Regions from separate parts of the Homo sapiens genome. Here all the other regions are linked to region 2. The links are contacts of gene promoters, found by promoter capture Hi-C in human tissues and cell types (Jung and others, 2019). All regions are on one chromosome and are shown on one strand. Each heading gives the region's core, a stretch centred on a gene start or on the middle of the fragment in contact. The rest is flanking DNA. Distances are from core to core; before and after follow the strand shown.

Region 1 (3,351 bases), core at 328-2,827, 420 kb before region 2:
GATTCTGTGAAAGAATAGATGAGTGAACTTGAAGATATGGCAATGGCAGCTATTCAAGACGAAGCACAAAAGCGTAAACAGAGTATCAGTGAGTTTTAGGACATCTTCAACTGCCTAAATTGGTATAATGAAAGTCATTAAAGGAGGTAAGATTGGACAGGGAAGAGAAAAGGCAGAAAAACAATTTAAAGGAACAATGACCAAAATTTCCCAAATTTTGTGAAAACTAGAAACCTCCTATTCCAAAAAGTTTAACATGTCCCAAAGACACACACACACACACACACACACACAGAGAGAGAGAGAGAGAGATAGAGAGAGAGAGAGAAAGAGAGAAAGGGAGAGAGAGAGATACAGGTGAACAACAAAATGACAAGAACAAATTTGGTTTTTAAAAATTTTTTTAATTTTAGTGGCTTCATAGTAGGCATATATTTTTATTGGGTACACGAGATGTTTCAAAACAGGCATGCAATGTGAAATAGCCACATTATGGAAAATTCGGTATTCATTCACTCAAGCACTTATCCTTTGTAGTATAAACTATTCAATTACACTCTTTTAGCTTTATAAAATGTACAGTTAAGTTGTTATTGACTATAGTCATCCTGTTGTGCTGTCAAATAGTAGGCCTTATTGATTATTTCTAACTAGTTTTTTCTTACCCAGTAACCATCCCCAGGTAATAGTTGATTTCTTATTAGAAGTAATGCAAGCCTAAATCAGTGGAGTTACATTTAGAAAATATTAAATGAAGAAACTTACTACCCAAAGCAATCTACAAACTCAATGCAATTCCTATCAAAATACCAATGATATTATTCACAGAAATAAAAAATCCTCTAAAATTGGTATAAAACCCTAAAAGACGCTGAATAGCCAAAGCAATACTGAGCAAAAAGAACACAGCTGAAGATATCACACTACTAGAATTAAAATATGCTACAAACTATAGTAACCAAAACAGGAAGTTATTGGCATGCAATCAGACACTGAGACCAATATAACAAAATAGAAAACCCGTAAATAAATCCATATATCTATATATAGCTGACTTTCAACAAAGATGTCAAGAATGTACACTGAGAAAATGGCACAATTTTCAATAAGTGGTGCTGAGAAAACTGGATACCCATCTACAGAACAATGAAACTAGACACTTATCCTCTCCACAAAAAAATATCAACTAAAAATGGATTAAAGGCCCAAATATAACACCCCAAACTATAAAACTACTAGAAGGGAACTTAACATAGGGGAAGAACAAATTCTTTAGGACATTGTTCTAGATAAAAAATTATATGGCCAAGACTTCAAAAGCACAGGCAACAACAAATAATAGAGATATGGGACATCATTAAACTACAAAGTTCCTGAAAAGCAAAGGAAACAATCAACAGAGTAAAGACAACATGTAGAATGAGAGAAAATATTTGCAAACTGTTCACTTGACAAGGGCCTAACATTCAGTGTATGAAAATTTTAAAAAAACTGAAATAACTCATTAGCATAAAAAAACTAATAATATCATTAAAAATGGGCCAAGAATTTGAAGAGACTTTTCTCAATAGAAGATATACAAATGGCCAACAGGCATACGAGAAAAATGTTGAACATCACTAATTAGTGAGGGAATGAGAATCAAAACCCCAGTGAGATACAATCTCACCCTAGCTGGAATGGCTATGATCAAAAAGACAAAAAATGCAAAGCTGGTGAAGGTAGGTGACTTCACATTTCTCTAGTCCGATTCTCTGGGAACAATGAGAGTGCTCTGTCTTTGCTCTCCCTCTAGTAACTATTTTTCACACGCAAAAATATGGACCCTAGTGGGAAATAATGCCTAAGACCACCAACACCTTAATCATTTGTTCATCACACTAGAAATGAAACTGTTTTCCAAATAATATTAACATCTATCTGTGTCTATCGCCATTGTGTCAATGTCTGTGTGATCCTATAACATTTAGAAGGCCTAGAAGAATGCCCTTGCTTTTTGCAATATGAAAATGGCCGATATCATAGATGATATAGATATAGATAGATAGGGGGTTGTATTTTGAAATGTATTTCTCTAAAGGACTTCTTTCACTTCAAATTTGAAATTATTCTTGTTTTAAATGTCACAAATGATAAACCTTATAGAATGATAACACAATTGTATGTGTTATAAAGTCACAGGGTCTATCAAATGATGAACCAATCATTCGGTGTTGAGGTTAGTAGTATTTTTTTTATTTCGATTCTCACTAAATGAGAACACGTTTTGTATTGAGGGGCCATGCCCTAACCATACCACATCGTGGGGTTGCTCAGAGACTGTGAGGTTCTGCCCACACTAAGCCAGAAGGAGAATTTTATTCCTAAGCCAGGATGAGAATTTTATTCCTCACACTGCTCTCTGCACTTGTTTGTATCCCATAATATCCCCCAAAAGTGAGCATGAGAAGTTCATTTTTTAAGCTGCTTGTTCATTCTCTTACATTTAATACATGTACCAAAAATTGTCTTCATTTTTAAAATAAAATGTTATGCTATCTTGTAATCTATAACCCTATAGAATAATCTTGATCCATACACTTTTGCTATCACAAGCAGAACAAGATCCACTTCCTCTCTCTGGGATAAATCCCATGACCGCTGCTCTTTGAGCATTATTTTTCTTAAGTTATTTTTTAAACAGAAATTTATCTGACTTACCTTAACCAAATGTCTTTTCAAAGTAACCGCATTTCTTTTAAGTGAAAAATTAAATAGTTACCTTCTGTTATCAAGAATTATCTGAATACAAAATATTTATTGTTTCAACTTTAGAAGGAATGAAAAACATCTACAGGTTACTAATCTAAAAATGCAGGCTCTGGGTTTCTATGGTGTTAACATGTCTTCCAAATTTTAAGTAACAGGTATTTAAATAACATGAACTTTGTTTTCAAACTTAGAAAATGTTTCAACCTTTTGGCTGGGCATGGTGGCTCAAGTCTATAATCCCAGCAATTTGGAAGGACGAGCTGCGAGTTTTGTCTGATCCCAGGAGCTCAAGACCAGCCTGGGCAACATGATGAAACTCCATCTCTACCAAAAGTTATAAAACTTTGCCAGGCATGGTGGCACTGCCTGTAGTCCCATCTACTCAAGAGACTGAGATGGGAGGATTGCTGGAGCCAGAGAAGTTGAGGCTGCAGAAGGTAAACTGTAGAGGCTAAAACATGATAAATATTTAATTCATCACTTAAAAGAAATGTTGGTTACATTGAAAAGAAATTTGATTAATGTAATTAGATATATTTCTGTTTAAAAAATAATTGAAGTAAGCCCTGTTAGCACCACTGCATTCCAGCCTGGGCAACA
Region 2 (3,747 bases), core at 802-3,301:
CCTCACTGTACCAGGGCAAGAAAATAGCCCTTGTCACCTGAGACTAAGAATTGGGGACTGCAATGGACCTGAATAAATATACTTAACCCTGTCTTCCACTAAGTTTATGCCCCTCATATTATCTCCTAGTGAATCCCCTAGAATTTACTGCCCTAGCCAGATCCCCTTTGTCCTGCCATTTCTTCTCAAATTTGTCATCCTTTGTCTAAAAAGTATAAAAGCATCTTGCTTTGGCCACTTCTCTAGACTTCACTCTGGTAAAGATCCCCATGCGCATGTAAAACTAATAACACTTGTATGCTTTTCTCTTGCTAATCTGCCCAGTGTCAGTTTGGTTTCTAGATCTAGGCAAAGAGCCCACTTAAGAGCTAAAGGAGGATTGGGGCCAGGTGTGCTGGCTTACGCCTGTAATCCCAACACTTTGGGAAGCCAAGGCCGGCGGATCACATGAGGCCAGGAGTTCAAAACCAGCCTGGCACACATGGCAAAACCCCATCTCTACTAAAAAAATTTAAAAATTAGCCAAGCATGGTTGGTGCGCACCTGTGGTCCCAGCTACTCGGGAGGCTGAGGCAGGAGAATCGCTTGAGCCGGGAGGCGGAGATTGCAGTGAGCCGAGATCACACTACTGCACTCCAGCCTGGGCGACAGAGTGAGACTCCATCTCAAAAAAAAAAAAAAAAAAAAAAAAAAAACAGCTAAAGGAGGAGTTCAGGGTGATCTCTAGCTCCTGCCAAATCCCCAAATCCAAATTAGTAAGTGACCCCACAGCTTAATCTTCCCTTCTCCTAAATCCCATTGGCACACTCCCTTCCCCTAATTCTCTATTTACTTCTCTGCTTCCCGCAGTGGACTCCAATTTCCCTGAGGGTGGACACCATGTCCGTTCTCTTTCCTTGTCTCCCCAGTGCTAGGCATATACCAGGAAGCTTTCAGTACATGTAGGACAAATGAATAGTTAATGGACTTGAATCAAGCTTTACAGTATAAAAGCACTTTCACCATCTCAGGTGATCCATTGAAATAGATAGTTGCGTTTATTTTATAGTTGAGTAAACTGAGGTGCGGAAGGTGGAACAACTCACCTAAGTTCACCCCCTAAGCCTCAACCTTAGCAGTGAAACTCACTAAAAGACATTAAACAGAGCCAGGTGTGGTGGCCCTTGCCTGTAGTCCCAAGGACTGGGGAGGCTGAGGCGGGAGGATTCCTTGAGCCTAGGAGTTCGAGTCCAGCCTGGACAACATAGCAAGACTCCATCTCTTTAAAAAAAAAAAAAAAAGACATCAAACACCAGCCTCCAGCACACTTAGCTTTGAATTGAAGATGACTGAGTTAGATCTGTGTACCAAGGCTTCCATATTGTGATGCAGAAAAGTTAAGGAGCTGAATTAAGTAGGTTCTCAAACTGAACCCCGGACTTCGAAGCTGGTTCCACGGTTTTATAAGGGCCACAAGAGGCCATCTAGCCCAAAACAGCTAACTTTCCAAACCGAAACTAGTTCAGAGGAAATCACTGACTCAGGTCAGCTTTTTATTAAGGAAATTAATTTTGTACCGTGAGCTCTAGAAGCCAGGCATATGATATTCAGACAGCACTGGATTCAGAACTATGCAGACTAAGGTCAGTAGATGGTAGGCAGGTCTATCTTCTGCAGCTGCAGGGTGCTTGACTCCAATTAAACATCAATACCACATCAGGAGCTCTTATGCCATAACCGCCCAACCTCTCCCAGCCGAGCTGATCACCAGAACCTGCGCGAATCTCTCCACGGTCAGCCCCACCCAGGGCTCAGGCTCCGCCCCCGGGCCTCCATAGCCCCGCCCACCGCCCACCCATCCAGCACCGCCCTTGTTGTCATGGTGATCTCCGGCTCTCCAGGGTGTCCAGGAGTCTCTCTGCTGCCAGCCCCGCCCAGACTCCAGGCAGGTTCTCGTTGCTATGGTGATCGCCGGTGCAAGCTGGATGCTTGGACGCGCCGCTGCCAGTCCAACGCAGACCCCGCCCACGACGTCGACGATTCGTGTAGCCCGCAGGTCCCGCGTGGCTCTCGTTGCCATGGTGATCGCCGCCGCTGGCTCAGGCGGACCAGGCCGCGCGGAGCCCCAGCTTTCACAGCCATCGCTGGTGAGTCAGCTCGCCCACTCTGTCCGACCCTCCCGGTCACCCAACCCCGTGCTGGCACATCCCGAGGCCAGGGCCGCGAGGGCACAGCGTCCGCGCCCACTTCCCGCCCCTATAACTTGAAAGCGGCCTGCGGCCCCGGGGCGTCCTCATTTCCGGAGCGCAAACTCTGGGCCAGGCCCGCGCTGGTTGTGGAGGAGAGCCAGGTCAGATGCGGGAAGACAACCGGACTCCGCCAGGACCACCCCAGCCCAGCCTGGAGAGGAGTCCGGACAGAAAAAGGAGACAGAGGGGCTGTTGAGGAGGCTCGAGGAGTCAGAGGCCTGGTGAAGTGAGGGTTTTCAGGGAAAAGGCCTAGTTGGCTGAAAGTTAAGGCCCCCAGGCCCACCTAGAGCCTTCGTCCTTTGCAGACTGGGAGCAGGAGACCCCTCCCCACTCTACTTCCACTGCCTGAGCTGTGCCATGCCTCACAGCCCAGTAAGGTAAGCTCAGAGGGGAGCTCCTCCTTGGTAGACACCTGTCAAGGGGAGACCCAGGTCTTCTGACTCCCAGGCAGGGTGGGGCAGGCCTGGTTCCCCCATACCATGCTGCCTGCTGTATGCAGATTGAGAGAAATGGCCTCTGCCCCATATTCCTGACAGAGAGGGAAGCCTGGATCTGGTTTTATTTATAATTCTTGAGACAAGGTCTTACTCTATCACCCAGGCTGGAGTGCAGTGGCACCTTCACGGTTCACTGCACCCTTGACCTCCCAGGCTCAAGCATTCCTCCCACCTTCCTCCCAAGTAGCTGGGACTGCAGGCACAGGCCACCATGCCCTGCTAATTTTTTTGGTTTTTTTTTGTAGAGACTGAGGTTTCACTTTGTTGCCCAGGCTGGTCTCAACCTCCTGGGCCCAAGTGATCCTCCCACCTTGGCCTCCCAAAGTGCTGGGATTACAGGCATGAGCCACTGCACCCAGCCTGGATCTGATGAAAAGTTAGGTGGAAACTCATGGGTGAATCCCCAGGTATTTGCACAGCTCCTTAACTGTCTTTCTCCTGGTTGGGTCCACAGGACTGTGGAAGAATGAGGTCCTCCCTGACACCTTTGGGGCCCCCTGTGAGCCGCGACCGTGTCATCGCCAGCTTCCCTAAGGTAGAGAGTCATTACGTCTGCAGTGCTCTCCTGGCCCTGCAGCCACATCAGCTCTCCCCACTCTACACTCATGCCTAGAAGTAAAGCAGGTGAATCAAGGAGGTCTGTCCATTGTCAGATTTACCTTGAGGAGCTGGGAGACTGGTCACTGACTGCCCAAGGTGGGACCGCAAGTTAATGGTGACACTGGGCAGCAGTGTGGCCTGGAGGTTATAAGGGCTGGGATTTTGCAGCCAGACAGTCCTTGATGTGAATCCTTCATTCTGATTCTGTCATTAAGCTGTGTGGCTGTGGGCAAATTACTCAACCTCTCAGAGCCACTGTTACATGAAGGTAATTCCTCTCATATTGGGTGCCTGGCTCATGGTATGCAGGAGCTCCCCTGCAGTCATAGTTGCTGTTGTTCTCATCATCGTTGTTGTTATCAAAACAGCATTCCAGTTCCATGACCCCAAATCCAGGGCTCTCTCCTCTTGCCATTCCGCCT
Region 3 (3,746 bases), core at 1,023-3,522, 470 kb before region 2:
ATGAGGCTGACTATTACTGTTACTCTGCGGCTGACAACAATCTCACAGTGACACAGGCAGATGGAGAAATGAGACACAAACCCCTTGCCATCTGTGTCACCTTCTTCCTCCAGCCCCAGGAGGACTGTGGACAAAGCCACGAACAGGTCTGGCCCAGTACACCCAGATCAGAGACTCTGAGGCCTCCTTCCTTCCAGATCTCTACGGAGGCCCTACAGAAGGTGGATCAATAATAAATTCGGGGTTGGCAGGTCCAGTAGGTCCTGGTGTTTTCTGGGCTGGAGTGTGACTTGGGGAAAAATGACTTGAATGGAAGTACAGTCAGTGGGAGACATCTATTGAGTGGTGATGGTCCCAGTATTTCCTTGTGTGGTGACTGAACCTAGGGCAGTGCCACTACTCTGTGGCCCAAATGCCCTGGGTTATTCCTCTGAGTTCCCCGTGTATTATTGAGATGCTCCAGCCCCCACTCTCATGGTATCCTGATCTGAAGAATCATGGCCAGTGCCCATTGCAGTGTCTCCATCTAGGTGCCATTTTCAGGACTCATGCATCCAGCATCCAAACAAGGCTGTGTGGGAGACCGTGACTTGTCACAGCTGTTCCCCACTGGAAAATGCCACTGAGCTGCAGAGAACTGCTCTCCCAGTGATGTTCCCCCTTCACAGTGTGGTTCAGGTGCAATGCCTGCCTGGTCCCTAGATTTTAATGCCATGTTTTCATTTAAAATAACCACGAAGTGTCTCTTGCTGAGCGCTCCGGTGTAACACATTCCCAGTCATGCCTCTCACAATTTTCTTTCTGACAAAATTTCCTGAAACCCTATTGCAATGAATTCTCCCTCTCAGAGTAGGATTGCAGGGAGTTCACAAATTAACAAACAAACCAAATACTGTCTAGAAGAAAGAGGATCAAAGAGGAGAGAGCTGCACAGGGAGCGCACTCTGGAGTCTGCAGATATTCATGAGCACCGATGAGCATGTGCATGGGAGGAAACCTTCTGTGATAGAGAAAATAACCATTCAAAGACATTTGAGGAAACACTCCATAGAGCTCACACACACATCCATGTGCACACACATGCACAATCAGAATAGTGCCTGTTCCTCCGCTCCATGAAGAAAGGCCCGAGTTAAAGTGGGTGAGATTTACCAGTGAGAAGAGCTTTGCCTCAGTACTGGGGAAAACATTGCCCTAGACAAAAGGCATCTCTGGTGTTAACTAAGAAAGTGTACGGCCCCTGTGCTGATGCCCATGTCAAAGACCATCACACGTATTTTAACCAACTAGCCCAGAGTTGTCACCAAGAGTTTGATCTTACAATAATTCTGCAATGAACATCCCTATTCAGACTCCTTGGAGTTCACCTATGAAGATTACCATAGAATAAATCTCTAGAAGTTGAATTGTTAGGTCAAAAAGAAGTACGTTTGTAATTTTCACTGATTATTCTCAGATTCCTATTCACGGGGGGGTTGTACCAATTTACAGTGCCAGCCATAAATCTTTGACGTGAGTATGCTGTTGAAAGTTTGGGTTTTTGCCAACATGGTAGATTAAAATTTTGTTGTCTTGTAACAGTGTTATTTTGGATTTCTCCTATTCTGCTTGAGGTTGAACATTTTCTCAAACATTTCAGGGCTCTTATATTTTAGGATTTAGTGAGCTTTTTTCTAAAATGGCCAGGTAAGGAGGGTTTTAGCCCCTGTGGGCCAAGAGTCAACTTTGACCATATTATGAGGGAACTTATAACTCCAGTTACAATGTAACCATTTAAAGCTATAAAAACCACTCTCAGCTCTGGGACCACACAAAACAGGTGGCAGGCCAGGGGTGGCCACAGGATGTGGTTTAATGGTCCCTGTTTTGTAGGGTCATTTGAAGTTTAAAAATTTCACCAGCATATATTTTAGGTGGAGATCTTTTTGTGGGTAATACTGTATTTCACCGCCTATAGTGGCCTGAGATTTCTCTCTAGATAAGAACACACTTTTCTTATTTTTTGGATGGATTTTGGGTCTATCTGTGATAGCCCTGTGTCATAAACTCATAACTTTTGTGTCCGTCCTTTTACTGTGATTTTTGGGAGTGTGACAGTATATCAGGAATACACTATCCAGGGTGGAAAATCAGAGAGAGGGGGAGGAGCAAGTGGGCAAGGAAGCTTGTACCAAAGCTGGAATATCCACTGCAGCAGGCTCAGAGAAAAGGGTCCTAATATCAGCATTTGACTGAAGCCAAAACCACAAGAGACCATAGAGGTTCTGAGGATGACAAATAAAAACATAGTTTAAGTTTTAATGCATTCATTATTTTTATAATCCACAAAAATTCTAAAACTCAGAATTTAACAATGGGATAAGGAAAAGAGTTTGAGATGTTAAACGATAAAGACCCCAAGGAAAGTTGCCAGGAAAAGAACAGGACCTTTTTGGTGGAACTATGTTTATGCTGTAAATTACCCTCTTCTATATGTCTATATATATATTTAGGTATAAGAGAACATCTCATGGAACACCCTTCTTCACCACAGTCAAAGATCACCCTCACCCAAGGAGGGAACCGAAAGGGAACGTCAATATGAGACAGAAAACATAATGCACTTTTGTATAAACATTAGGAGAGTCTCTATTTGCATATCAAATGTGGATGCTTAATGTTAACATTGGAAATAGTAGGTTAATATGCATGTGAGGTGAGTTTTCTTTTGACTATTTCTGTCTGTGATTTATCTTTCTTAATAGGGACATTTCTGCCCTTAGAACAACTTAACTTGTGATATTTTTTGTTCTATTATCTGTATCAGCTCTGTTTTTTTTTTTTCAAACAGTGGCAAAGATATCCCATGACTAATGATTAATAAATTCAATTAATGGGTATTTAAATTATTTCAAGAGTGGACAGTTGTGACTTCCCCACATCTAACTCACAGATGTCGCTGATGCTGACTCACTCTTCTCTTCCAATCATAGCAAATAAAGTGGGAGCTTTGACTTTTCTGAAGACCCAGATGACAACAGGAGAGAGGAGGTGAAACCCCCTAAAGCTGTTATCCTTTAAACCCTCAGGAGGAATCATCCTGGAGAAACACCCACACTTGAGTTGGATTATACCTAAATGAGAGTTTGGTCTTAGAGTTGGTGCTGAGTTAGTTCAGGATTTGGGTTGTTGGGATGGAGTGAATGCGCTTTACAAGTGAAAAATACATGAGTTTTTGGGTCCATAGGTTGGAGAGTTCTTGGCTGAATTGTGTCCCCCAGAGTTCATACAATGAAGCTCTAATGCACGGTGTGTGACTGAATTTGGAGAGAATCTTTAAAGAGGTGATTCAGTGAAAATGAAGTCATGAGGGTGGGTTCTTATCGAATCTGACTGGTGTTCTCGTGAGAAGAGAAAATTTGCACACACAAAAATGAGACACTCGAGATGAGCGTGCAGAGGAAAGACCGTGTGAGGACTCAGCAAGGAGGTAGCGACCCGCAAGCCAAGGAGAGAGGCCTCAGTGAAAACCAAACCTATAAACACTTTCATCTTGACTCCCCAGCTTCAGAACTGTGAGAAAATAAGTGTCTGCTCTTTAGGCCAGCAGGTCTTTGGTATCTCATTAAGGTAGCACTAGCAAATGAAAACAAAAGGGACCCCAAAGACCTTGGATGCGGGAGGAGGAGGAGATGGAGCAGGGTGCAGGAGGTGGGGCAGGGAGGGGCTGGAAGTTCAGGCTCTGAGGTCATCTCCTGGGTGGAATC
Region 4 (3,727 bases), core at 741-3,240, 370 kb after region 2:
TGCCCTTCCCCATGTCCTCCCTCTCCCCTCTGCCCACCCAGCCTCCCACCACATGGGGCACTGGAGTGCTCCTTCCCACCATCTGCCCTCCTGGGCTCCGCTTTCATTCTGCTCCCCCGACCCCAGGTCTCAGCATTGCAGGCATCACAAGACAGCGGATTCCAGAGGCCCCAAAACACTTCCATCCTCCAAGCACGCACTGAGCATATGGAGAAGCTGAGGCCCAAGCAGGGCCAATGGCAGAGCAGCTGGAAGCCCAGCTCTCTTGTGCTCTTGCTGCAGCTCCAGCTCCTGGTCGGCCGTCCACCAGGCATCTGCTGAGCGCGATGTGTTTCCATTTAGGGGCATCTCACACTTGATCCTCACTCCAGCCCAGAGGAGGCTGGGTTAAAACAGGAAGGCTGGGCTGTCCAGCTCTAGCTCCTTCTAAAAATGCAGTGAGTCCCATGTTGGCATCTCTGCTTCGCAAACAGGTAAAACGAGGCAAGCAGTAGGTCAATGACTTGCTGTCTCTGGTCGTGTGTCAGGCAACCACAGTCACACAGTCACGAGGGTCTCCTGTCTGAGATCCTGCCTATTCTTTTTTTTTTGAGACGGAGTCTTGCTCTGTCTCCCAGGCTGGAGTGCAGTGGTGCGATCTTGGCTCACTGCAAGCTCCGCCTCCCGGGTTCACACCATTCTCCTGCCTCAGCCTCCCCAGCAGCTGGGACTACGGGCACCTGCAACCACGCCTGGCTAATTTTTTTGTATTTTTAGTAGACACGGGGTTTCACTGTGTTAGCCAGGAAGGTCTCGATCTCCTGACCTCGTGATCCACCTGCCTCAGCCTCCCAAAGCGCTGGGATTACAGGCGTGAGCCACTGCGCCCGGCCAATCCTGCCTATTCTTTAGTGTTAAGGCCAGGAAATGCCTTAGTGTAGACTCCTCTCCCTGTGAATGTGGCAGACATTACTAATTGATCACAGCACTCTTTCCCTCTAAGCCGAGATGTAGTCTCAGAATCCTCAACACAGCCTCTATTAAATGGGGACCTGGCAATCGAGGTGACACCTACCTGTTCAACGCCCTCTCTGGAGGGCAGGATCCTGTCTTACCTAGTATCTTCCCCAGCACTTGGCTCAGGGCCCAACACGTGGCACAGATCACGGTAATAAATTTTTTTTTTTTTTGAGTTGGAGTGTTGCTCTATCGCCCAGGCTGCAGTGCAGTGGTGCGATCTCGGCTCACTGCAAGCTCCGCCTCCTGGGTTCACGCCATTCTCCTGCCTCAGCCTCCCAAATAGCTGGGACTACAGGCACCCGCCACCATGCCTGGCTAAGTTTTTGTATTTTTAGTAGAGATGGGGTTTCACCGTCTTAGCCGGGATGGTTTCGATCTGCTGACCTCATGATCCACCCGCCTCGGCCTCCCAAAGTGCTGGGATTACAGGCGTGAGCCACCTTACCTGGCCATTTTTTTTTTTTTTTTTGAGACAGAGTTTTGCTCTGGTTGCTCAGGCTGGAGTGCAATGGCACAATCTCAGCTCACTGCAACCTCGGCTTCCAGGGTTCAAGCGATTCTCCTGCCTCAGCCTCCCAAATAGCTGGGATTACAGGTGCCCGCCACCATGCCTGGCTAATTTTTGTATTTTTAGTAGAAACAGGGTTTCACCATGTTGGCCAGGCTGGTCTCGAACTCCTGACCTCAGGTGATCCGCCCGCCTCGGCCTCCCAAGGTGCTGAGATTACAGGTGTGAGCCACCATGCCCAGCCACAGTAATAAATTTTTATTGAGTGAGTGGGTGAACGAGTGGTAACCACCGAATGAACGATGCCTCCCAAAGCCAGTGGCTCTAACCAGCTTCTTTTGTAGCAACAATATGACAGCAATAATTATAACAGTAATGCCCCCAACAGCTGACATTTCCCGAGTCTCTAAGGTATTTCATCTGAGCTCTGGAATGCCATTTCCTCAGGGTCACACATCACAGGACAGAGCCAGACCCCGCCCCTGGCCTCTTGCTTCTGAGTCCAGTGCTCTGCCCCGGCCCCCACCTCTGCCAGGTCCCACCGCAGCTTGTCTGGGTCAATTGGAGCGGACCTGGACCTCAATCTGGGGAACCTGCAGGTGTTGGAGGCAGATCCCAGAGGCCGGGGTGGGAATGGGTGCTCGGGGGAGTAGTTAGTTGGGTTCTTACTCACCTGTTTGGGATTGTAGAAATACAGAATAGGAGACATCACAATGCACCACATTTACCATGACCTGACCCCCCTCCCCCCAAAATTCGTATGTCAAGACATAATCTGCGTCAAGCTTGGTGGCTCATGCCTGTAATCCCAGCACCTTGGGAGGCTGAGGCGGGTGGATCACCTGAGGTCAGGAGTTCCAGACCAGCCTGGCCAACATGGTGAAACCCCGTCTCTACAAAAAATGCAAAAATTAGCCAGGTGTGGTGGCACATACCTGTAATCTCAGCTACTCGGGAAGCTGAGGAGGGAGGATTGCTTGAACCTGGGAGGCCGAGACTGTAGTGAGTCAAGATGAGGTCACTGCACTGCAGCCTGGGTGACAGAGGGAGACCCTGTCTCAAAACAAACAAACAAAAACCAAACCAAACCAAACCAAAACAAAAAAACACCATTATCTGCAATGTGTATTAAAAGGTGAGGATTCTGGCCTGGGGCAATGGCTCACGCCTGTAATCCCAGCACTTTGGGAGGCCGAAGTGGGTGGATCACGAGGTCAGGAGATCAAGACCATCCTGGCTAACACGGTGAAACCCCATCTCTACTAAAAATACAAAAAATTAGCCAGGCATGGTGGGGGGGCGCCTGTAGTCCCAGCTACTGGGGAGGCTGAGGCAGGAGAATGGTGTGAACCCGGGAGGTGGAGCTTGCAGTGAGCTGAGATCGCGCCACTGCACTCCAGCCTGGGCAACAGAGTGAGACTCCGTCTCAAAAAAAAAAAAAAAAAAAAGAGGTGAGGCTTCTGGGAGGTGATTAGGTCATGAGGGCTCTATCCTCATGAATGGAATTCATGCTCTTAGGCAAGAGGCCTGGGGAGCCTGCTCACCCCTTCCACCACGTGAGGACAAGGCTATAAGGCATCTATGAGGAAACGGCCCTCATCAGACACCGAATCTGCAGGCACATTCATCTTGGATTTCCCAGCCTCCAGAACTGTGAACAATAAATTTGTTTATAAATAACCCAGTCTAAGGTATTTTGTCATAACAGCCGAATGGACAAGCACACCCTTTTTTGAATATGTAGAAGAGAGGTCCCCAGGGAGTGTGATCGGCCCAAGGTCACCTGGCGGCCTTGGCTGAGGAAGGTGTGCAGAGCCCAGTGTCAGAGCCCCTGAGATGCCCTCTCCTCTCCTAGGGCCCTGGGCACTTGGGGTTAGTTGTTTTGCATCCTTTTGAGAATGTGAGTCCCTCAGAGGGAGGAACCTGGGCACGTCACATAAGGCTTGGCTCAAGATAGGTGCTCAGTAAACACTGGATGGACAGATGGGCAGAAGGAAGGAGAGAATGAAAGGAGGAAAGGAGGGAAGGAATGGGTAGCTGAGTGGATTCATGGATGGGTGGATGCATGGCAGCACGGGAGGGAGGATGAGTGATTGGGAGGATGGATGGATGGATGGATGGATGGATGGATGGATGAAAGGAAGTAAGCCAACATGGATGGAATGAGTGATGGAATTGATTGTCCCCTGCACCTGGAGGCTTCCAGTGACTCAGCCACAG
Region 5 (3,340 bases), core at 762-3,261, 420 kb after region 2:
GACTATGTTTCAAAAAAAAAAATTCTTTGGGACTTGGTGTTAGGCAAAGAGTTCCTAGATATGACAATAAAGCCTAATCCATAAAGAAAAAAATTGATAATTTTCAGCTCATAAAAATTTACAACTTTTGCTCTAAGAAAGATACTGTTAAGAGAATGAACTATGAAAAAATATTTGCACATCACTTATCTGACAAAAGTCTTGTATCCAGAAATTATAAAGAACTCTAATAACTCAACAGTTAAAAAAAAACTAATTAAAAGTGGAAAAAAGACTCATACAGACACTCCCTCAGAGAAGATACAGGGATGACAACTGAACCTATAAAAAGGTGCTCAACCATTATTAGCCACCAAGGAAATAAAAGTCAAAATTACAATGAGATATCACTCCCCGCATCCTTAAATGGCTAAAAAAAAAATACTGATAATTCCAAAAGCTAACAAGTCTGCAGAGCAACTTAAACTCTTGTGCATTGCTGCTGAGGATGCAAAATGATACAGCCACTTTGGAAAACAGTTTGGCATGTTCTTAAAAAGTGAACCATATTCATATCGTATGATGTAGCCAACCTACTCCTGGGCATTTATCCCAGAGAAATGAAAACTTAGGTCCATGCAAAGACACATACATGAATGTTCATAGAAGCTTTATTTGTCATAGCCTAGAAACAACCCAAATAGATAAACAAACTGTGGTCCATCCATACCATGGACTATCACTCAGTAATAAAGAAGAGCCAAGAATTGATCCAGGCAACACCTTGGACAGAGCTCAAAATGATTATTCTGAGTGAAAAAAAAAAAGCCAATCTTTTTTTTTTTTTTTTTTTTTTTTATTGATCATTCTTGGGTGTTTCTCACAGAGGGGGATTTGGCAGGGTCATAGGACAATAGTGGAGGGAGGGTCAGCAGATAAACAAGTGAACAAAGGTCTCTGGTTTTCCTAGGCAGAGGACCCTGCGGCCTTCCGCAGTGTTTGTGTCCCTGGGTACTTGAGATTAGGGAGTGGTGATGACTCTCAAGGAGCATGCTGCCTTCAAGCGTCTGTTTAACAAAGCACATCTTGCACCGCCCTTAATCCATTTAACCCTGAGTGGACACAGCACATGTTTCAGAGAGCACAGGGTTGGGGGTAAGGTCACAGATCAACAGGATCACAAGGCAGAAGAATTTTTCTTAGTACAGAACAAAATGAAAAGTCTCCCGTGTCTACCTCTTTCTACACAGACACGGCAACCATCCGATTTCTCAATCCTTTCCCCGCCTTTCCCCCCTTTCTATTCCACAAAACCACCATTGTCATCATGGCCCGTTCTCAATGAGCTGTTGGGTACACCTCCCAGACGGGGTGGTGGCCGGGCAGAGGGGCTCCTCACTTCCCAGTAGGGGCGGACGGGCAGAGGCGCCCCTCACCTCCCGGACGGGGCGGCTGGCCGGGCGGGGGGCTGACCCCCCCACCTCCCTCCCGGACGGGGCAGCTGGCCGGGCGGGGGGCTCACACCCCCACCTCCCTCCCGGACGGGGCGGCTGGCTGGGCAGGGGGCTGAACCCCCCACCTCCCTCCCGGACGGGGCGGCTGGCTGGGCCGGGGGCTGACCCCCACACCTCCCTCCCAGACGGGGCGGCTGGCTGGGCGCGGGGCTGACCCCCCCACCTCCCTCAAAAGCCAATCTTAAAAGATCACACACTACACAATTCCATTTATATGACACACTCCAAAAGACAAAATATAGAGATGGACATCAGTGGATGCCAGGGGTTAGGGGTGAGGCCAGGGCGTGGCTACAAAAAGATAGGAAGAGGAAGCCTTTTCAGATGATAGAACTGTTCTGGATGCTGATAGTGTGATGGTTACACAAATTGATGCTTGTCATAAAATTCATAGAACTGTACTCCAAAAGGAATTTAATCAAAATGCAACTTGGAAAATAATGATGTAGCGGCCAGGCACGGTGGCTCACACCTGTAATCCCAGCACTTTGGGAGGCCGAGGCAGGTGAATCACCTGAGGTCAGGAGCTTGAGATCAGCCTGGCCAACAGGGTGAAACCCTGTCTTTACTAAAAATACAAAATTAGCCTGGTGTGGTGGTGCACACCTCTAATTCCAGCTACTTGGGAGGCTGAGGCATGAGAATGGCTTGAAACTGGGAGGCAAAGGTTGCAGTGAGCTGAGATTGCACCATTGCACTCCAGCCTGGCTGACAATGCAAGAGTCTGTCCAAAAAAAAAAAAAAAAGATGTGGTGACTCGAGTTCTCAGGTAGTTTCTTCCCGCAACCCACACAGGCCATGGTTCTTCCCCTATAGCACCTTGGAAGGGATTAGAAAAGGGCACCACCCCATGTGCAGGACGCAGCCTGTGCCAGGGCCCTCAGCCTGGCAAATGGAGGACTGGCTGAATTGCAGCTCCACTTGTGCAGTGAGCAACCTACACGACTGTCCATGTTGGGTCCTGGAGCCCCCATCTTTTCTTCTCAGGTTCTGTTATTCCTCAATGGATGGAGTTTTGACAAGCAGTGCCCAGGGAGTAGGGATGAGGTGGCCTGTGCATTAGACTGGACTAACCTGGCCAAGGCTTCTTGCTAATGGCAGCAAATGCACTTAGTGCTGAGGTTGCAGGCTGGTGCTTTGGGGACCTGGAGCTTAATGGCTCACCTGCCAGGGAGGAAGAAGGATGGTCGGACAGCCAGACGCATAGCCAGGATCAGATGGATGGAGGGAGCAGGAGGACTTGCCCCAGCCTGGAAACCCCCCTTCCTCCGAGAAGTGGGGGTGGAGAGTGAGGGGATGTGCAGGAAGGACGCTGCCAAGGAGACTGGCTTTGCCTGAGCCTGTCCCATGGCACATTTTGTCTGCTGATTAATGGTGAAGGTATCATTCCTCTAGAGGGGTAGGTTTCAGGTGGGCCCAGCCACAACCTGCTCTGCCCCAGGGAGCTGGGGATGAAAATCAGGATCCCAGCTCTTTTTTTTTTTTTTTCAGATGGAGTTTCACTGGTTGCCCAGGCTGGAATGCAATGGCGCGATCTCAGCTCACTGCAACCTCTGCCTCCCAGGTTCAAGTGATTCTCCTGCCTCAGCCTCCCGAGTAGCTGGGATTACAGGCGCCCGCCACCATGCTTGGCTAATTTTCATATTTTTAGTAGAGAAGAGGTTTTTCCATGTTGGCCACACTGGTCTCGAACTCCTGACTGCATGTGATCCATCCACCTCAGCCTCCCAAAGTGCTGGGATTACAGGTGTGAGCCACCATGCCCAGAGACCAGATGGTTGTTTTTGTTAGCTTGTTTTTCTTTTTTTTTGAGATGGAGTCTTGCTCTGTCACCCAGGCTGGAGTGC
Region 6 (3,309 bases), core at 598-3,097, 390 kb after region 2:
GAAGAGGGCAGGACAGGGAGGAAGAAGGGAGGGAGGAAGGGCAGGAGAAAGGGGGGTGGGGGAGGGGTGGAAAAGTGTCCCTGGGGCTCTGAGGCACAGACCACCAAGGGACTGAGCACCTAAGCTGGTCTCCTCCCACCCCTTGCCCCCTCCCACCCCCTTGCTCCACTACTGGATCCTGGGGAGTCTGGCAGGGGCTGTCAGGGTTAAGCAGTGGGCTCCCCTTCCAGGCCTGCTCCAGACAGCAGCCCCCACCCTCCCTTTGTTCACGTCACTGGAAGGGTGGGCCTAGGCTGGGGCCTGGCTCCTTGGAGAAGACCCACCAGTGATCTAGCAGGGCCCAGAGCCAGGGCTGGGCCTGGACATTCCAAGTCAATTCAGGACTCAGAGCACCCCAGAGGGGAAGGGACCTGGGTTGTCCCCTGGAGTCACTAGCATCTGCGGCGAAACTCCCCCCGCCCCCACTGGTCTGCCCTGGATCCTAAGGGTAGAGGGACAGCGTGGCGGGAAGTAGCCCACTCCACCTGGGCAGGAACAAACCCACAGCCACCCGAGGAAGAGAGAATGCTGGCAGGATAGTCATGGAGCGGGGGCTCAGGAAGGCCTCTTTGAGGAGACAGTCTTAACACCTGAGAGCTGAGAAGAATTCAGCCTCACAAAACCCAGAGACGTGGCCCTCAAGAGGGAGATGGGGCTGGGAGACATGGTGGAGTGGCCAGGCCGGGAGTGGCTGCAGGGTTTGAGCCTGGGCCCAGCAGGTCTGGCAGGTCACCCCAGGGGTCTCCTGCTTGCTCCTGAGCCAGTGTCTGTGAGAGCTGGGTGGCAAGGCCAGCGGGAGGCTGAGGGACCCAGGGCCCGGGCATGTGGGAAGCGAGGGCGGCCTCTCCTTGGTTCCTCGGCAGCCTGGACCCTCACCCCCTGCAAGGTCCTGGTGGCCACCGCTTGCAGGGCCGTCCCTCTGGGAGTGGGCAGGGGGGCTGGGGGACACTGGGAAGACCTTCACCCCTCCGAAGGCAAGGCCTGGTCACGTTCATCCTCCATCCCTTTCCCGCCTGGACTCCTCCTGTGTGCTGGGAGCACTTGGCCGTGTGAGAACAGGGCAGCATGGTGGACGGGCCAGCATGGCACGGCGAGGTCTGAGCCCCTGGCTACTCTCCCCAGCCCTGAGAACTCAGGCTGCTCCGTAAGCTCTGTGGGCCTCAGGCTCCTGGTCGCTAGAATGGAGCCACAGGCAGGCTACCCAGAAGTGAGATGCCTGCCAAAAAGCCGTGTGCCCAGCCCAGAGCCAAGACTTGGTCCATCGAGCCCCAGCTCAAAAGCCCTATGAGAGGCCGGCCCTGAGCACCGTCCCTGTCCCTGTGTGCCACTTCAGTCACAATTCAGCAGCTCGCAGCCGCCCACTGAGGCTGAGCCTCTGTTCAAATTTGCCTCGATGTTTGCTGGTCACTGATTCAGGTCTTCGGGCCTCAGCTTCCTTACCCACAAACTGGGGGCGGCCTCTGGGGGCTGTTGTAAGGGGAGCTGGAGGCCACAGGCTCTGGCCTGGAGCACTTCGCTCTCCACCACTGTCTTCTCCTGACGTCTGTGTTTCCTCGTATCTCATGGTACCGCGTCTCCTCCGCAGGACCTGTGTGTCCTGTGTGACGCTGTGTGCCACCCACCACATCTTCAGCCCCTGAGAAAGATTCTGGTGGTGGAGGCTGTTGAGTAAATGCTCACTTGAGCTTCTCCCACTACCTTGGAGCCCCTCTTCTATTTGTCTCCAAATTCTCTTTGCTGACAGAGTGCACAGTTCAAAACCCCACACTGGGATGAACTAGAGGACGCCCAGGTCCAGCTCAGGAGCAGCTTCATGTCCCCTCCACTGCTGTACCTCTAGGGCCTCCCTCTGCCACTGCCATCTACTAGGACATTCTTCCTGGGCCCCTGTGGGACAAGGACTGCCTTTGGCTAGTGTGGGGAAAAGAAAGAGAGATCAGACTGTTACTGTGTCTATGTAGAAAGAAATAGACATAAGAGACTCCATTTTGTTCTGTACTAAGAAAAATTCTTCTGCTTTGAGATGCTGTTAATCTGTAACCCTAGCCCCAACCCTGTGCTCACAGAAACAGGTGCTGTGTTGACTCAAGGTTTAATGGATTCAGGGCTGTGCAGGATGTGCTTTGTTAAACAAATGCTTGAAGGCAGCAAGCTTGTTAAGAGTCATCACCACTCCCTAATCTCAAGTAAGCAGGGACACAAACACTGCGGAAGGCCGCAGGGACCTCTGCCTAGGAAAGCCAGGTGTTGTCCAAGGTTTCTCCCCATGTGACAGTCTGAAATATGGCCTCTTGGGAAGGGAAAGACCTGACTGTCCCCTGGCCCGACACCCGTAAAGGGTCTGTGCTGAGGATTAGTAAAAGAGGAAGGAAGGCCTCTTTGCAGTTGAGATAAGAGGAAGGCATCTGTCTCCTGCTCATCCCTGGGCAATGGAATGTCTTGGTGTAAAGCCTGATTGTATATGCCATCTACTGAGATAGGAGAAAACTGCCTTAGGGCTGGAGGTGGGACATGCTGGCGGCAATACTGCTCTTTAAGGCATTGAGATGTTTATGTATATGCACATCAAAAGCACAGCACTTTTTTCTTTACCTTGTTTATGATGCAGAGACATTTGTTCACATGTTTTCCTGCTGGCCCTCTCCCCACTATTACCCTATTGTCCTGCCACATCCCCCTCTCCGAGATGGTAGAGATAATGATCAATAAATACTGAGGGAACTCAGAGACCGGTGCGGCGCGGGTCCTCCATATGCTGAGCGCCGGTCCCCTGGGCCCACTTTTCTTTCTCTATACTTTGTCTCTGTTGTCTTTCTTTTCTCAAGTCTCTCGTTCCACCTGAGGAGAAATGCCCACAGCTGTGGAGGCGCAGGCCACTCCATCTGGTGCCCAACGTGGATGCTTTTCTCTAGGGTGAAGGGACTCTCGAGTGTGGTCATTGAGGACAAGTCAACGAGAGATTCCCGAGTACGTCTACAGTGAGCCTTGTGGTAAGCTTGGGCGCTCGGAAGAAGCCAGGGTTAATGGGGCAAACTAAAAGTAAAGTCTCTCATTCCACCTGATGAGAAACACCCAGAGGTGTGGAGGGGCAGGCCACCCCTTCAGGGTAGGGTCCCCTCCATGCAGACCATAGAGCACAGGTGTGCCCCAAAGAGGAGCAGAGAGAAGGAGGGAGAGGGCCCACGAGAGACTTGGAAATGAATGGCAGGATTTTAGGCGCTGGACTTGGGTTCGGGGCACCTGGCCTTTCCTTGTGTATTTCTCCTACTG
Region 7 (3,398 bases), core at 628-3,127, 440 kb before region 2:
TACCTGCTGTGAAGTGAGGAGGCTTATACTGAACTGAGGAAGCTCTTTTCTTCATTCAAAATTAAAAGACAGAAACAATAAAGTCATGTGAATTAAAGCCTTCTAAGGGGATGTCATTTAATGGGCTCCAATGGGCTTCAGACATGGAACTTCTTGTCTTTCCTCTGCAGAGATTCCAAGAAAGGGACTCAAAAGGGCTTGCTTTCTGTATGATGGGAACAGTGATCTCCAGCTGAGTATAAGCAGGAGAGTCCTAGTTTCATCAGCAAGACAGACAAGGCTAGGGTAGAAATCCTCCTGGCACAAGCTCTGAGAGGTGTGGAATGAAATAAAGATAAACATGAAATTAATGTGCCTATGATGGTGATGTTAGCTCACAACTAAGCTGCAGAACCAGAAACCTGGTGATTGCAGTGAATCATAGCTGCTCTTACTGGGTGGGAGGTGCACCAGTTTGCTTCCTAAGTGCATAGAAAGCCTGGGTCCCTGTAGGATGGCATGCACATCTCTCTGGACTTTGAAAGTGTTGCAGAAGAGCTTCAGTTGACTCACTCTAATTAGACCTGACTGAACAAAACCATTAGAGGAGGGCATTTCAACCCTGAGACACTTCTATAGCAATTGCACCTGCCCCACCCCACTGAACTGCGTGTGTTACCTCTCTGTGCTGGGCTGGGCAGGGCAGATTGGGTCACACTGGCACAGAATGGGGCTGGACTCTCTGGTCCTCAACTTCTGAGGTGACAGGTGCTGTGGGGTCACCTGGAAGAAGAAAGCTCCTGGGCTGAGTCTCCTCCACCAGTTGGGGGCAGCAGAGCTGCAGCCAGGAGCAGTGAGGAGAGAGGCTGGGGCTGCCCAGCTGGGGCGAAGAGGAAGGCCAGCCTGGGGTTCAACAGGTGTCCAAGAGTCAGTCTTCAGACTGAAAATGAAGACAGTTCATCCTATCCCCTCGGGCTGCAGTGACCACGTTCTGAGGGTCAGATTCATACAGTGTCACCCAAGGACACCGACAGAAGCCCGGCACAGTGAAGGCCTCACCTGGGAAATGCAACTAGAAGAGGCTGGGCCCAGGTGTCAGCTTGGGCAGCTTCCTTAGGAAGGGGATTCCCTGGGAGAAGTCCTGAGGCCGAGGTGCTCTAGGAGGGGCACAATGTGAGGTGACAGGGCTCCCAGGGCCCAGGTTCTTCACCCAGGATGGCGGCCTGAGCCTCCTGCCACTCTCAGGGCCTTGTCCCTCCCTGTCCAGCAGTGTCCTGGGGAGCTGAGCCCTCTATCGTGGGCACTTCCAGATACACCCGACCCCTCCTGCCTCTGCCTTTCCTTCCAGCTCCAGGTGGACTCTGACTCAGGACGCAGCTCCTGTGCTCAGGGGAGATTCAGGTGGGTGGCGTGAAGCATTTTGGGGCCCTGGTCCCTGCATGAGGCATCACCAGCCTCCTTCAGGAGATGCTGTCCAGAGGAACAGGGCTTCTCACCTGCCTCAGGCCACAGCTCTCACCACGGGGCTGTCCTTTGATCAGTGGCAGGATCTGCATGGCTGGAGGGACTACTGACCACATGCTCTCTGGAGCTCATGTCTTGTGTGGAGACCATGACCTGGGGACCCTCAGAAAGACCAAGCAGCCTAAAGTTAGATTTTCAGTCCAGTGTGATTCTCTGGTTCTTTTCGCAAGTTTACGTAAAACGTTGATGAGAAAAAGTGAATAAATAAAGGAAGAGTTGAGGATGGCAATTGCTGGTCTACTGTGGGGCTGGGGGATACCATGGAAAGAGCAGCACCACATGTCAAATGAGACTAGAGATTGGGATGCATCCGAAATATGTGTGGTTGCTCAAATGACAAAACTCTTCCAACTGCAATGATTCATAAGTGTCCTACAGACACAGTACATCATGTACATAACATTACCAGGATGGGGCCAAGTGACTCGGGGGTATCCGGAGCAGGGATGAAAGAGGAGAAAGATGATGCATCTTTGGTGTACTTGCTGCTGAGTCAGGCGTCATCAGTGATTTCTCAACAGGGCCCAGCTCAGCCCCAGGCCAGGCTCCTGGAAGGTCCATAGTCCTGCTCAATGCAGCCCAGGACAGGCCACATGACACAGAGGTTTGAGACAGGGACCATGTTGTCAATCCCCAGGACGGTGACTGTGATCACAGGCCTTGGAGGCCAAGGCTGATTTTCTGACTGGAGAAGCAGACGAAGGAAGCTGGGGATTCACCCCTTCATTTTAAGTTTCTCATGCTGCCCCCAGAGCTGGCTTGAGGGATATCCCGCCATGAGGAGTCCCAGAGAAGTAAATTTGCATAAACACCAAGGATGCACTGCCCCAGTGGGCCTGAGAGGAAATAAGAGAGGCCTGGGAAGCCCAGCTGTGCTGTGGGCTCAGGAGGCAGAGCTGTGGGTGTCTCACCATGGCATGGGCCACACTCCTGCTCCCACTCCTCAACCTCTACACAGGTGCTGCCCCCAGACCCTGCCCCAGGCTCAGCCCTCCTAAGCCCCTGGTCTTACCCTGAACCCTGAGCTCAGCCCAGGCATAGCCTCAGGGCGATACTACTGGAATGGGTTTGTTATCTTCAAGCCCCCTCTCTTGTCCTCTCTTGCAGGCTCTGTTGCCTCCTATGAGCTGACACAGCTACCCTCGGTGTCAGTGTCCCCAGGACAGACAGCCAGGATCACCTGCTCTGGAGATGTACTGGGGGAAAATTATGCTGACTGGTACCAGCAGAAGCCAGGCCAGGCCCCTGAGTTGGTGATATACGAAGATAGTGAGCGGTACCCTGGAATCCCTGAACGATTCTCTGGGTCCACCTCAGGGAACACGACCACCCTGACCATCAGCAGGGTCCTGACCGAAGACGAGGCTGACTATTACTGTTTGTCTGGGGATGAGGACAATCCCTCAGTGACACAGGCAGATGGGGAAGTGAGACACAAACTCCTTTTTCATCTGTGTTGTGTTCTTCCTCCAGCACCAGGAAGACTGTGGACCAAGCAATGAGCAGGTCTGGCCAAGTTCTACTGGATCTGAGACCTCCAGGCCATCCTTTTTTCCAGCTGTCCAGGTTGGCTCTGCAGAGGGTGGAGCAGGAGTGGATTTAAGGCTGCTATAATCAGAATTTATGGTGTTTTGGGGCCTCATGAGTGACTTGGGGAAATAAGAACTGGATGGAAGATGAAAGAGATGTAGAGAACCATCACTTGACCTTAGATTTCCATACGATGGTGATTGGGTCACTCCTTCTTCAAAATATCCTACATCAGTCCCGAAAAATACCCACCTCAGCTCAACACCTGAGCTTCCAGGCTTCCATGGCAGCCTGGGATTTTGAACAGGAAAAGCCAAGGAGGGGACACTGTGGCATCTGCCTCAATACCCTTTTCTGAGCTCACC

Evidence for each region. Contacts are between HindIII fragments. The study calls those that stand out against the background at their distance.
Region 1: a fragment that was not itself captured here is called in contact with the fragment with the promoter of RAB36 in region 2 in 1 of the 25 tissues and cell types used here (IMR-90 fibroblasts).
Region 3: a fragment that was not itself captured here is called in contact with the fragment with the promoter of RAB36 in region 2 in 1 of the 25 tissues and cell types used here (lymphoblastoid cells).
Region 4: a contact is called between a fragment that was not itself captured here and the fragment with the promoter of RAB36 in region 2, in 1 of the 25 tissues and cell types used here (dorsolateral prefrontal cortex).
Region 5: a fragment that was not itself captured here is called in contact with the fragment with the promoter of RAB36 in region 2 in 3 of the 25 tissues and cell types used here (IMR-90 fibroblasts, heart right ventricle and lymphoblastoid cells).
Region 6: a fragment that was not itself captured here is called in contact with the fragment with the promoter of RAB36 in region 2 in 4 of the 25 tissues and cell types used here (bladder, dorsolateral prefrontal cortex, hippocampus and 1 more).
Region 7: a contact is called between a fragment that was not itself captured here and the fragment with the promoter of RAB36 in region 2, in 1 of the 25 tissues and cell types used here (stomach).

Annotation. Positions count from the first base shown.
Region 1 is chr22:22,722,723-22,726,073 of GRCh38, forward strand. It overlaps IGL. Among named protein-coding and RNA genes, the nearest start is that of LL22NC03-102D1.18, 13 kb to the left of the region's middle. The HindIII fragment of the contact is 4,264 bases long and covers 1-3,351 here.
Region 2 is chr22:23,143,426-23,147,172 of GRCh38, forward strand. It overlaps RAB36 (RAB36, member RAS oncogene family), which reads left to right and starts at 2,052. Exons shown (of 11, transcript NM_004914.5): 1 at 2,052-2,126; 2 at 3,180-3,260. The coding sequence starts at 3,192. It also overlaps a transcript of RSPH14 not described here. RefSeq lists a silencer at 1,805-1,874. The HindIII fragment of the contact is 15,551 bases long and covers 1-3,747 here.
Region 3 is chr22:22,668,766-22,672,511 of GRCh38, forward strand. It overlaps IGL and IGLV3-27. Among named protein-coding and RNA genes, the nearest start is that of GGTLC2, 26 kb to the left of the region's middle. The HindIII fragment of the contact is 4,680 bases long and covers 1-3,746 here.
Region 4 is chr22:23,514,518-23,518,244 of GRCh38, forward strand. No RefSeq gene overlaps it. Among named protein-coding and RNA genes, the nearest start is that of LINC02557, 3.0 kb to the left of the region's middle. The HindIII fragment of the contact is 4,353 bases long and covers 1-3,727 here.
Region 5 is chr22:23,559,660-23,562,999 of GRCh38, forward strand. No RefSeq gene overlaps it. Among named protein-coding and RNA genes, the nearest start is that of IGLL1, 19 kb to the right of the region's middle. The HindIII fragment of the contact is 9,054 bases long and covers 1-3,340 here.
Region 6 is chr22:23,534,108-23,537,416 of GRCh38, forward strand. LOC124900476 (endogenous retrovirus group K member 5 Gag polyprotein-like) reads left to right here and starts at 2,774. Exons shown (of 2, transcript XM_047441690.1): 1 at 2,774-3,029. RefSeq lists enhancers at 496-1,111, 1,112-1,728, 2,344-2,960. The HindIII fragment of the contact is 4,075 bases long and covers 1-3,309 here.
Region 7 is chr22:22,701,914-22,705,311 of GRCh38, forward strand. The region is part of intron 2 of LL22NC03-102D1.18 (a long non-coding RNA gene); the gene reads right to left. It also overlaps IGL and IGLV3-22. Among named protein-coding and RNA genes, the nearest start is that of LL22NC03-102D1.18, 8.0 kb to the right of the region's middle. The HindIII fragment of the contact is 8,195 bases long and covers 1-3,398 here.